2 separate regions of the Homo sapiens genome follow, and region 1 is linked to region 2. Evidence: promoter capture Hi-C in human tissues and cell types (Jung and others, 2019). All regions are on one chromosome and are shown on one strand. Each heading gives the region's core, a stretch centred on a gene start or on the middle of the fragment in contact. The rest is flanking DNA. Distances are from core to core; before and after follow the strand shown.

Region 1 (5,696 bases), core at 2,340-4,839, 150 kb after region 2:
CTGGGGAACACCGTAAGGGACTCAACTCCAGGCACTGGTGTCTGGCTCTTGTGCGTTTGCTAAATTGACATGACTCCAGGATCTGTAGCAGGCCCACACATCCTTGATGAATACAGTGAAGTCTTGTTTTTACCAGCACTCAGTTGGCCAAATATCCTTTCCAGCAATGAGATATCAGAGGACACAGTGAAGTTATTCAAATTAGGGTGGAAAAATCACCAAAATTCACTTAAAATCATGTTTATCGAAAGTCCCAGTGGGGTCAGGTTAGGTAGTAAATAACAATACAGAATGAATATTTTAATGATATTCCAATTTTAAGCTTGTCTTTTTTCCTTTGTGTTTCATTATTTACTCATTGTACATTCACAGAAATACATTTGCTAAGCAAAGAGAATGACATTTGGAAGATAAGTGATTAAATAGTGTCTAAACTAGTTGCAACAACTGACACCACCACCAGTAACATGGGCTGTTTATTGAACTCTGGCAACAATTAAACATCTATTCATCAGTATCTACGACACAAAAATAAAACATTCATCTCTAAAATAGTAAGGTATATGTTCAAACAATGCATCCTTAATTTTTTTTTAGAGACAGGGTCTCGCTGTGTTGCCCAGGCAGGTCTTGAACTCCTGACCTCAAGCAATTCTCCCACCTAGGCCTCCCAAAGTGCTGGGATTATAGGCGTGAGCCACCACGCCTGGCCATCCTTAATTTTTAAGACTCCAAATTAAGTTGGAATAGACTGATATATCTAAATCAGATGAAGCATGTTTCCCTTTAAACGAGGGAACTTACAAAACAGAAGTATTTTTGTTACGTGAGCTAAGAGGCAATAAAGCCTTATTTGACAGTGTGCTAGGTACCCACGATGGCAGCATGAAGACAAAAACAGGAGGAATCAAAGCAATTGTACTGTGCAGATAACATGGTTCTTTAGGGTCAAAGGAAGGCTTCCTTTGTGCTCTATTAATGAAGCATAGTATTCATGATGCATGAACGTGGAATGAAATCCCAATGTCCTTTGGCACAGAACCACACTCATTTCATGAATTGTTCATGAATTGTTGATGGCTGCTTTTACAAAACCATGGCAGAATTGAGTAGTTGTGACAGAGACCATATGGCCTACAAAGCCTAAAATATTTAATATCTCACCATTTATAGAAAAAGTTTGGAGATCTCTGATGTAAGCTCCAAGAAGCAGCCAACTTTGTCTGTTTTGTGCACAGACATTCTAGCTCATAAGGAAGGCACTTTTCAAATTATCTGTAATGGATGAATGGACAGACAGATGGGCGGATGGACGCACGGATGGATGGACAGTTCCCACACAGTGTTGGAGTTGACCAATGGTCAGACCATACATTTATGGCAGCAGAATCTACAAGCTAATGGGAGCTTATCCCACAGGTTTCAGCCACTTACTATGAAGCAGGCTTAGAAAAGACCAAGAGTGGGGCTCTCCCAGGAAGAAGTGATAGATGGGGAGCAGGTGGTGCTGATGGAAGGGGCTGAGTGGGGTCCGTGGAGGCCACCATGGGTGAGGAGGACGTGGAGGCTACAGGCGCTGATGGACAGGGGAAAGTTGGCATTAGATGCCAGCCTGCATGACCCGAGAACGCAGAGCAGCTCCCGTGATGAGGCTGTACCCAAACTCCACTTTCTAAATTGCATTTTCTGTCCCTTTCATCCGAATCATCCCTCACCTATCAAAGGACTTTTCCACCCCTGGCTCCTCCTGTGCTCGCCCACCAAATGCAAGGGAGCTGTTTTCCTCATGCTATGGGCTGTGTCCCCGCAATTCATATGTTGAAGCCCTAACCCTGGTGCCTCAGAATGTGACTGCATTTGAAGATGGGATCTTTAAACAGGTAATTAAAGTTGAGTGAGGTGATGAGGGTGGTCCTAATTCAATCGGACTGATGTCCTTATAAGAAGAGATTAGAATGAAGGTGTGCACAGAGGGTCAACCATGTGAGGACACAGGGAGAAGATGGCTGTCTACAAGCCAAGGAAAAGCCTGAGGTGACACCTTTTCCCAGGATCCCCGTGGCAGACTGATTGCATTTGATCACTTCCAGGATGAAGAGGGCAGCAAGATGTTCTCCCTGGAAGAGGCACTTACTCTGAATATGGGCTTATCTTCTCTGCCCGCAATCCTTCCATGGAAGTATGATCTGTTAACCACAGACCTTTTCACCATCATGGTGTCCCACTCAGAATTGCTCTGACTCAGGAAGCTACTTTATATCAAAGGAATGTGGCAACGGGTCAGTGCTTGTGGAATTCACTGATGCTGCCTTGTTCCCTGCCTTCCAAAAGCAGCTGATCTGGGAGAATAGTGGAATGGAGATTTTTCTCTCTCAGGCAAAGGAAAAAAAAAAGAATTTTACTTGATTATGACTTTCTCTCAATAGAAACACCATATTGCCAAATGCTGCAGACACTAATACGAATGGATGACAAGGCAGCAGTCCTTGCCAGCACACTCAAGCAGGGTCAGAGAAGACACATTGCAGTGGGTGGAATCACGGCCCCTGAATTATCCAGGCCCTCACCCCTGGAACCTAGGACAGTTCCCTGACACAGAGAAAGGATCTTTGCAGATGTGATTTAAATTAAGGTCTTGAGAAGTGGGGGATTATGATAGATGACCCAGGTGGTCCTAAATGCAATCACATGTGTCTTTATCAGAGGGAGGCAGAGGGAGATTTTACTACAGACAGAAGAGGAGGTGGCCATGTGACCACGGAGGCAGAGGGTGGAGGTGGCCAGCAGCCACTAGAAACTGGAGGAGGCGAGGATTGGGGTCTCCCGGAGCCTGCAGAGGGAGCGCGGCCCTGCTGACACCTTGATTCCGGCCCAGTGAGGCAGGTTTAGGACTCCTGGCCTCTGAACTGTGACAGAATAAATATTTGTTGTCTTCAGCCACCAAGTTTGTGCTAATTTGTTACAGCAGCCACAGGAAATGAATATATCCATGCCAAAATTAATACATGCATTCCATTTTATATTCTTTTCCAACCTTAAAATAAAACCAACAAGTGCTTCCAGATTTTCTTTTATAATTCTCTTTGTGCATTCAGTTCAGTAAATGTTCAAAAGGGTAATACGTTTATAAAATGTGATGCCAAATTGCATAAAATTGACCAGACTAAAGGGGAAAATTTACCATTTTATGAAATAAAATATAATTTACAGATCACCAGCATTAATTTATATCATGTCCTGCTTTGGGCTTCCAAATTCTGTTGGCAATTTTACCCTGGAAAAATATCATGAACCAAATAGGAAAACTGGTATTCTAAATACACTTCCTTCATGTGACACATTTCTTGTGTGTGGATGTAATGAGAATTCAAAAAAAGAAAAAAAAGATGTGTTTTTATTCCTCCCTTTATTGCCAAAATTAAGGCAGTAAAAACAGGCACCAAAGGAATGAGTTAAGATAGATTTAGAAGAGGACAAGTGGAAGCCAGGCAGGGCAGAATTCTAAGATAAGGGTCAAGATCCTCACCCTCCTCCTCAGCGGTGGCCCTGGGATGTGATGCGATGTCACTCCCATGGTTATGGCACATTACATGGCAAAGACGATTTCCGCAGATGCGGAGATACAGGCTCTTCTGATGGTCTTCAAGGGGAAAAAGCCATGTTGTGGAGACAGCCACCTGGTGGGGAATGGATAGGCTTTAATCCTTCTTTAAATGTTTGGTAGCATTCAATAGGGGAGAATGCTGTAGTTTGCATGTTTGACCCCTTAAAAATCTCACGTTGAGATTTATCCCCAGTGTTGGCGATGGGGCCTAATGGGAGGTATCTGGGTTATGGGGGTGGATTCCTCATGAATAGATTAGTGCTTTCCCTCAGGGTGAGTGAGCTCTTGTTCTACTAGTTCCTGGGAGAGCTGGTTGTTAAAAAGAGCCTGGCACCTCCTCCCTCTCTCTCTTGCCTCCAGTCTTGCCCTGTGACCTCTGTGCACACTGGCTTCCCTTCCCCTTCTGCCACGAGTGGAAGCTCCTTGAGGCCTCACCAGAAGCAGATGTTGGTGCCATGCTTCCTATACAGGCTGCAGAACTGTGAGCCAAGCAAATCTCTTTTCTTTATAAATTACCTAGCCTCAGGGATTCCTTTATAGCAACACATAACAGACTAAGGCATTTGCTGTTTTGTATAAATGGAATCACACAACATGTGGCCTTTTGTGACTAGCTTGTTTCACTTAGCATCATTTTTTCAGCATTCATCCATGTGGTTGTGTGTATCAGGACTTCATTCTTTTTATGGCTGAATAACAATCCATTGTATGTATACACCACATTTGATGCACTCCCCACTCCTTCATCTGTTGCTGGACACTTGGGTTGTTTACCCCTTTTGGCTGTTATGAATAATACTGCTATTAACACTGGCATGCAAGTATCTGTTTGAGTCCCTATTTTCAATGCTTTCGGGATTATACCTAGGCATGGAAATGCAGGGCCATATGGTAATTCTATGTTTAACTTTTTGAGGAAACTCCATGCCGTTTGCCACAGCGGCTGCACCATTTTCCATTCCCACCAGCAATATACAAGAGTTCCAATTTCTCCACATCCTTGCCAACACTTGTTATTTTCCATTAAAAACATTACAGGCATCCTAGTAGGTGTGAAGTGCTATCTCATTATGGTTTTGAGTTTCATTTCCCCAGTGACAAATGATGTGAGAATCTGGTGGCCCAGTGGGCTTGGAGATTCACTGGGCTGGATGGTGGGAAGGGTTCACCTGCCTCCTTCGTGCCCTCCCAGAGCTCAGGATGCTTTGTGATGTGGGCCTAAACTCTAGTCAGGAGAGCACATTCTTTGCTCAGGTGCCTGAGGTGGCTGTGAGCTTCAGATGATGAAGAATTTTGTTTGGTTTCTTCTGCATTTTAGTGAGCCCTGGAACTTTGGTTCCATTTTTTCATTTGTATGGAGTTGGGATCATCTTTCTGCCATCTGACTGCATTCTGTGGTGTCCACATTTGCCAGTTTGGAAAAAACATGTACCCAAATCAGGTAATGAAACCCAAGGGCTGCCCACTGAAGCAGTAGACTTTCATCTTCCCTTCCCAACTCCCATTTTTCTAAATCTATTATTGGGATGGAAAGACCTAGGGATGGGGACTCTTGGGAGATTTAAACATCAGTAGTCTAGAATAGGTTGGGCAGGGCAGAGGCTGAGCAGGGCAGTAGTCTAGAATAGGTTGAGCAGGGACCGACCCCCTGCTAGGCATGGGGCAGGCTTCCAGGGCTAAGCCCCACACTGCAGTGCAGGCTGTGGACCAGTTTCCCTGCCCCCTGCCACCTGCCCAATGCAGGAGTCTCTGGGCCATGCCATTCCCTTTTGGTGAGCTGGGCTGGATAGTGCTGCTAGCCTCTGGCAGACTGGTGGGACCCACAGGAGCTGTCTCAGGGGCTGGACCCTGCAGAATGCAGCCTGCATGTGCCTGAACAGCTGAGATTCCATGCCCCACAATTTAGAAATCCATGTAGAAAAGAATTCTTTATTTGAGATTGGTGGAGAAGGATCAGAAGACCATATTTTTAAAATCAATGTATATATATGTAGTATGTATTTATTTTTTACTTAGTTTTGCACCTACACTATACACAGGATCAATCAATTTTAAAAATGAATAACACGGAAACGAGACAGATCTCAATGAA
Region 2 (5,708 bases), core at 1,869-4,368:
AAGATCATGCGGCCTTTTTCCAAGTACATGGCCACCAAGTAGGAATGGTTGGTGACAAGACAGAAGGCTAAAAAAGGAAGGTAATCTTGTGCACCTGACAAATAGAAAGAATAAAGGATCAAAATCGAAGGCAGGCTACAATAGTATCAAGAAATTCTTAAAAACCAAAAAGTGATTTGGAAGCACAAAACTTATAGTTAATGCTATTGAGTCAGCCTCTCTTTACAGCCTTCTGTCACCCCAGGTCCTGCCCACCTCAGATCATGCTTGCATCCTGACTTTGGCCACAATCCTTCCCATCCAGAGACTCAGTTTCCTGCATCCACAGAGAGCAGGTTTGGGACTTTTCTCCTAGGAATCAAGGTAAGAGGCAGCCTCTTGTGACCCATGTCAAACATTTATTCTGCTTTCTGCATGGTCATGGAGTTCCCCAATCTGACTGTGCCACTTACAGACAGAAAGAAATCAAGAGATGTCACTATAGCAAGCCAGCAAGAGACCTTTGTCTCTGATGGTTCTTGATGGTACTTCTTGAGCTCCAGTGGTGCAGCTGTGCATCCCAGTCTGGCCCTCACCTGGTCCTCATGTGTGGCCCTTTTTACATCTCCAACCCATTGCCTCTGCTGTTCCTTTCCAGGGATGCTCTTCTTGCTTCTCTGCCTGGTAAGCTCCTACTGGTCCTTAAAAGTCCAGTCTCAAAATCACCTCCTCTGAGAGGCCTTCCTTGTCCCCACCCAGATGGAGATGGCTGCATCACCCAGGCACCCTCCTGGGACTTTTGCTCATGCATCTATTTATAGCACTCACATGGAGTTTTGTGATTCCTGAGCTGTTTATCGGGCTCCTGACTAATCCCCAAACTCCTTGTATGCGAGGGCCTGTCTGAGTCATCTGGCCGCCAAGGAGGTTGGCACGGGACTGGAGTCGCTTCACCCTGGTCTGTGGATGCTTTCCTCCTTCCTTTTTTCATTCCTCAAATATTTATCAGGCACCTACTATGTGCCTGGTTCTGGGCTATGCATTGGGAACACAGCAGGGAATGAGGCTCGGATGGTCTGGAGGGAGAGCTGTGTTAAAAACTGAGTCAGTAACAAAGACATCAGCAGCATAAGTGTTGTGCCTCAGTCTGGGGACCATGATGAGAAGGCCTCTTAGGGGTGTTCATTTAGGAAGCGGTCTGAGGGATGAGAGGGAACCAGCCCCAGGAGGCTTGAGTGGAAGAATGTTCTGGGCAGGAGCAGCAAGGGTGAAGCTGCTGCGGCAGGACCATCCCTGGCACATTTGAGGGGCAATACTGAGACTCTTGAACATCCCAAGAAGCAGAGTGCACAAGGCGGAGTGTGGCCTTGTGCAGAAGTCAAGGCTGTTGGCCAGTGCCTGAACCCAGAAAACTCGCTGGACTAGCCTTGCAGTTCTGGTAGAAAGGAAGCTGCTCCTGGATGCCCATTTTACAGACGGATAAGCACAGGTCACCAGGGATGATATGGCAAGGATGGAGGCAGCCCACAGTGTTTTCAAACTCACATTTCCTGGGCACCTAGTGAGTGCCAAGCCCTAGGCCAGGTGTTTCCACTCCTGAACTCATGAAACGCTTTCAGAGACCTTATTGTCCCCATGGGATAGGTAAACTGAGGCACAGAGCTGCTCAGTGACTTCTTTAAGGTCATCCAGCTAGTAAGTGGAGGAATTGGTATTGGAACCCATACCTATCTGAGCCCCAGACTCATGATTTTCCATCCCACTGCCTGGGAAGGGTGAACAGGAGACGCAGGAAGAGAATGGTGATGGCTGCAAGGCTTCCCTCTTATCTCCTGTGGCTCCCCACTCTGTGCATGGGGCCCTGCATCACCCCCACTTTACACCTGGGCAAGCAGAGGTCAGGCCCGGCCTCAAGCCTTTCTAGCAGGTGGTGGAATCTGCTTCCCTCACGTGAGGTCCCTGACAGGGTACACATGTCTGCCTGGAGGCCAGGGGCTGACCCCTTGACCTTTGCCTGGTACATTCTGCCTTCACTAGCCCTGGCTTTACATCCAGAGTCATCTGTTCCCAGCGCCAGATTGGTCAGCGGTTCCTGAAATCCCCCGAGGTTCCGTGTGGGAGCAGAGGGAGGACTGGCCCATCCAGCCATTATGCAGATGGGCAGACTGAGATCCTAGGAGGAGAGGAGAGAACGAAGGTCCAGGAGAGAGCCAGGATGGGGCCTCGGGGCTCGCGGGATAAAATGCACCGCATGCCGCCTCACTCCCTCTGAGACACGGTTTCCCCCTGTGTAGAACAGGGGCAGCAGTAACCAGCCACGAAAACTCCTCGTGCTGCCTCGTCACCGGGCATCGCTGAGCTCACCACCGACCCCGCGCCCTGGCCGGGCGCCTGGAGCGCGGGCGCGGGCGACGTTTGCTGGCGCCAGGCCCTCAGTGCGTGTTAGCGAGCAGCGCCGGGAGATAGCTGTCACCGCCGCCCGCTCACAGATGCGTAGACTGAGGCTCAGGTGTCACCACCTGACCAAGGCTAGTTCCGCTACAAAGCTGCCGACTCGGATCCGAACCCGGGTCCAATTTACAGAAAAGGAAACTGAGGCCCAGAGACACTAGGGAGCTTGCTAGGGTGAGGCAGCTGCAGGTTCAGAGAGCCAGGAGGCAGCCCAGCAGCGCACTTTTAACCCCCGCCCACTTCGGCAGGCCCAGCCGTGCCACCTTTAGGGATCTCGGGTTTTTTCCAGACGACGCACCCAGGAGAACGCGCCCGCGCATCGCACCCGCCGGGGCTGCGGGTCTGGGGGTGCCGGGCTGGGCCTGGGCGCCTGCAGGGAGCAGCGGGCTCAGTGGGTCCCGGGAGTGGGTGGGGCTTGCATGTTGACGGGCAGCGCGAGGGGCGCGGCTTTAGTCCAGGGGGCGGAGCCTGACCGGACCTGGGTTTTTCGGGCGGCTGGCGGACTTGACAGAGAGCGGGAGGGGCCCGGATCCTGGGCCTAAGGAGGGTGGGGCGTGTGCTTGACAGGCAGGGACAGGCCGGCGTCTGATAGGCAGAGGACGGGCCTTGGAAACGAAAGGACCAATCGGGCACGCAGGGGCGGGGCCTGAGTCAGCGCAGTTCGGCCGGGGTCTCCCCGGCGCTGCCCAGTCTGTCTCCGGCGCCGCCCGTCGCGGACTCGTCCTTGCTGCAGTCGCCGCCGCAGTCCTCGCCGCAGTCGCCGCCGCCGCCGCCGCCGCCGCCGCTGCTCCTCCGCCTGGCCTGGGCCGTCTGCCCGCAGCCATGAGCGTGCTCGGCCCCGGTGGAGCCCGCAGTCCTCTAGATTAGTCTCCACCGCCGTCCAGGACCCACTTGCAGCATGGAGTCGCCCGCCTCGAGCCAGCCCGCCAGCATGCCCCAGTCCAAAGGTAGGCGCTCCCGGCCGGGACCTCGGCCTGACCCCGCGCCTAATCTGGGGCCGGGCTGCAAACCCCGACCTTTCTTTGGTCCCACCCCATCCTGTTCTCGACCTGGCAGCGGCGTCCGGTCCCGGAACCCCTTCCTGTTCGGGGTCCCGGGACCAGCCCCCGCCTGGGCCCTCACCTGGACCCCCACGTTAGGCCTTGGGACTGCACTCAGGCCCGAGATCACCCAGGCTGGACCCAGACTAGGACTTTGTTCTGCTCACCCCATCCAAGTCAGGAGCCTCATTCTGACCTCATTTGGGCCTTATGGCTGCAGCCTGGACATGAACTCTCCCAGTCTTCTCCCTCAGCGGGACCCAGGTGAGATTCACACTGGCCTTCACCTGGGTCCTTGGGCAGCACCCAGTCCCATTTCTAGCTTCGGGTCCCAGGGCTGTATCCAGGTTGGGATTTAACTTGAGTCTCCATCTGGGCCCCAGAGTGCTCCTGTTGTTGCGGACCTCACTGTACCCCCTATGCGGGTGCTCTGGCTACACCCCAGCTCGGAACTCCCCGTCCTTCTCTCCCCCAGCTCTTCTTATCCTTATAGGCCCTATGTTGCCCCTTCCCTGGCTGGCCTGCACCCTGTCCTGCAGCCCTGGGCTCCCAGGAACCTTCCTTGTCCTCCCACCCCTCCCTAAGGTACAGCCCCCTCTCTACCGGCCTCTCTCTGTCTTGAGTTGCAAGCTTCTCCCTGCACTGGGGGTTCTCACCCCATCTTATTCTTGTCCTGGCTGCCTGGGATCTGGGCCAGCCGCCAGGCCAGGGTGCTGGCTGTGCAAGGGATTTGCTCTTCTCCAAGTAGCTGGCCTTCCTGGAAATTTTTGTGAGGTGGCAGCAGCAGGATTTGTCATGCGGAGGGGGAAGGATGAAACTCGGAGGGCAAAAGGGGAATTTTTTTTTTTTCAGGAAGAGGAAAGGATGTTTTTGGTGCGTCGGAGTTTCAGTAGGCTGGGTTGTGCGAGAGATTTCCAAACCGGACATAGCCGTAATGAATGGGCTGCCTCCTGGCTTTCTGAACCTGCAGCTGCTTCACCCCAGCAAGCTCCCTGGTGTCTCTGGGCCTCAGTTTCCTTTTCTGTAAATTGGAAGTAATCGCACCTGCTTCTGTGGACGTGGGAGTGTGGTGTGGGGTGGTGAATAGTAAAGAGCTCTGAGGCGTTCTCTCAGCGTAGCACCTGGCGCAGAGCCGGTGCTCACCAGGGTACACTGGCTGCACACATCTCGCTATTGTTTCCATTCTTCTTGCTGGAAAGGCCTCCACTGCTGGAAGTGCAGCCTCAGAGTGAGCAGGAGGAAGCACCTAGCAGCGGGCACCTAGTGGGCACTTCATCAGGGGTCAGCCGCTCTTCTGTTCTGGAGGGTGCAGGCCAATGGGAGCCCTATGTGGGCCTGGGGAGGGCATGGGCTCTTCCTGGCCCCTGCTGCTGGCTGCTATGGTGGCTGGAGCCGGGTGGGCTGGATAATTATGCCTTACATAAGTGGGAGGCCGGATCCCTGACCATTGCCCAACCACTGTGAGTAACTCGGGAGGCACTCGACGGGGGAGGTGTCTGGGGAGGGACTTGCACTGCACAGACCTCGTGGAGCTTGGGAACCAGGAAATCAGACACTTCTCCACTCTGGAGAGCTCGGGGAAGGGTAGGAAGCACTGTTTGTTTTGGAGGCTTTTTAGCTCTCCAGGCAGAGAATGCCTCATCAAAATAAAAGTTCCAGTTGCAGAGTTGTGAAAGGAGAGGGGTCATAGATGCAGTGAGAATGCTGTGAGAGGGCCAAAATGAACTTCTAGATGTGGACCCAGGTCCTAGATGAGGTTGAGGGGGCTGGATGGAGGGTCAGGGACCTCCCTCAGGCCCAGGGACTCTGTAGTCTCTTTGGGGTCTGGGGAAGGATGTGGTGGCAGAGCCACAATGCCCTTCACCAAAAACCCTATGAGCTCCTTCTTTTTTTCCATGTGCCATGCATTTTCTCATTTATTCCTCATAGCCCCATTTACTGATAAGGAAACTGAGGCGTTAAGTGCCTTGCCTGAGGCCACACAGCTGTGACAGGCGGAGCTAGGGTTCCCCCTAGGACTGTGTTTCCACAGTGGCCTTCCCCGTGCTCCCCTATGTGCCCCTCCCATGCTGGATGCCTGAGCTGAGCTGGTGGGGTGCCCCCACCCCTGGCCTTGCTCAGAGCATGTGCAGTGGGCCTGTCCTCATGGCCACGTCAGACCTAGAGGACAGACTGAGGCAGAGGTGATGCCTCTCCTGTGCACAGCGCTTTACACTGGGCCTGTTGCATTCTCGCTGC

The links. The method cuts DNA at HindIII sites, captures the fragments that hold promoters and counts their contacts. A contact is called where the count stands out against the background at its distance.
Region 1: a contact is called between a fragment that was not itself captured here and the fragment with the promoter of MAP2K3 in region 2, in 2 of the 25 tissues and cell types used here (dorsolateral prefrontal cortex and spleen).

The regions. Positions count from the first base shown.
Region 1 is chr17:21,427,912-21,433,607 of GRCh38, forward strand. No RefSeq gene overlaps it. Among named protein-coding and RNA genes, the nearest start is that of KCNJ12, 54 kb to the left of the region's middle. The HindIII fragment of the contact is 9,626 bases long and covers 1-5,696 here.
Region 2 is chr17:21,281,593-21,287,300 of GRCh38, forward strand. It overlaps MAP2K3 (mitogen-activated protein kinase kinase 3), which reads left to right and starts at 3,119. Exons shown (of 12, transcript NM_145109.3): 1 at 3,119-3,377. The coding sequence starts at 3,329. RefSeq lists enhancers at 2,191-2,691, 4,768-4,827 and a silencer at 2,578-3,107. The HindIII fragment of the contact is 7,420 bases long and covers 1-5,589 here.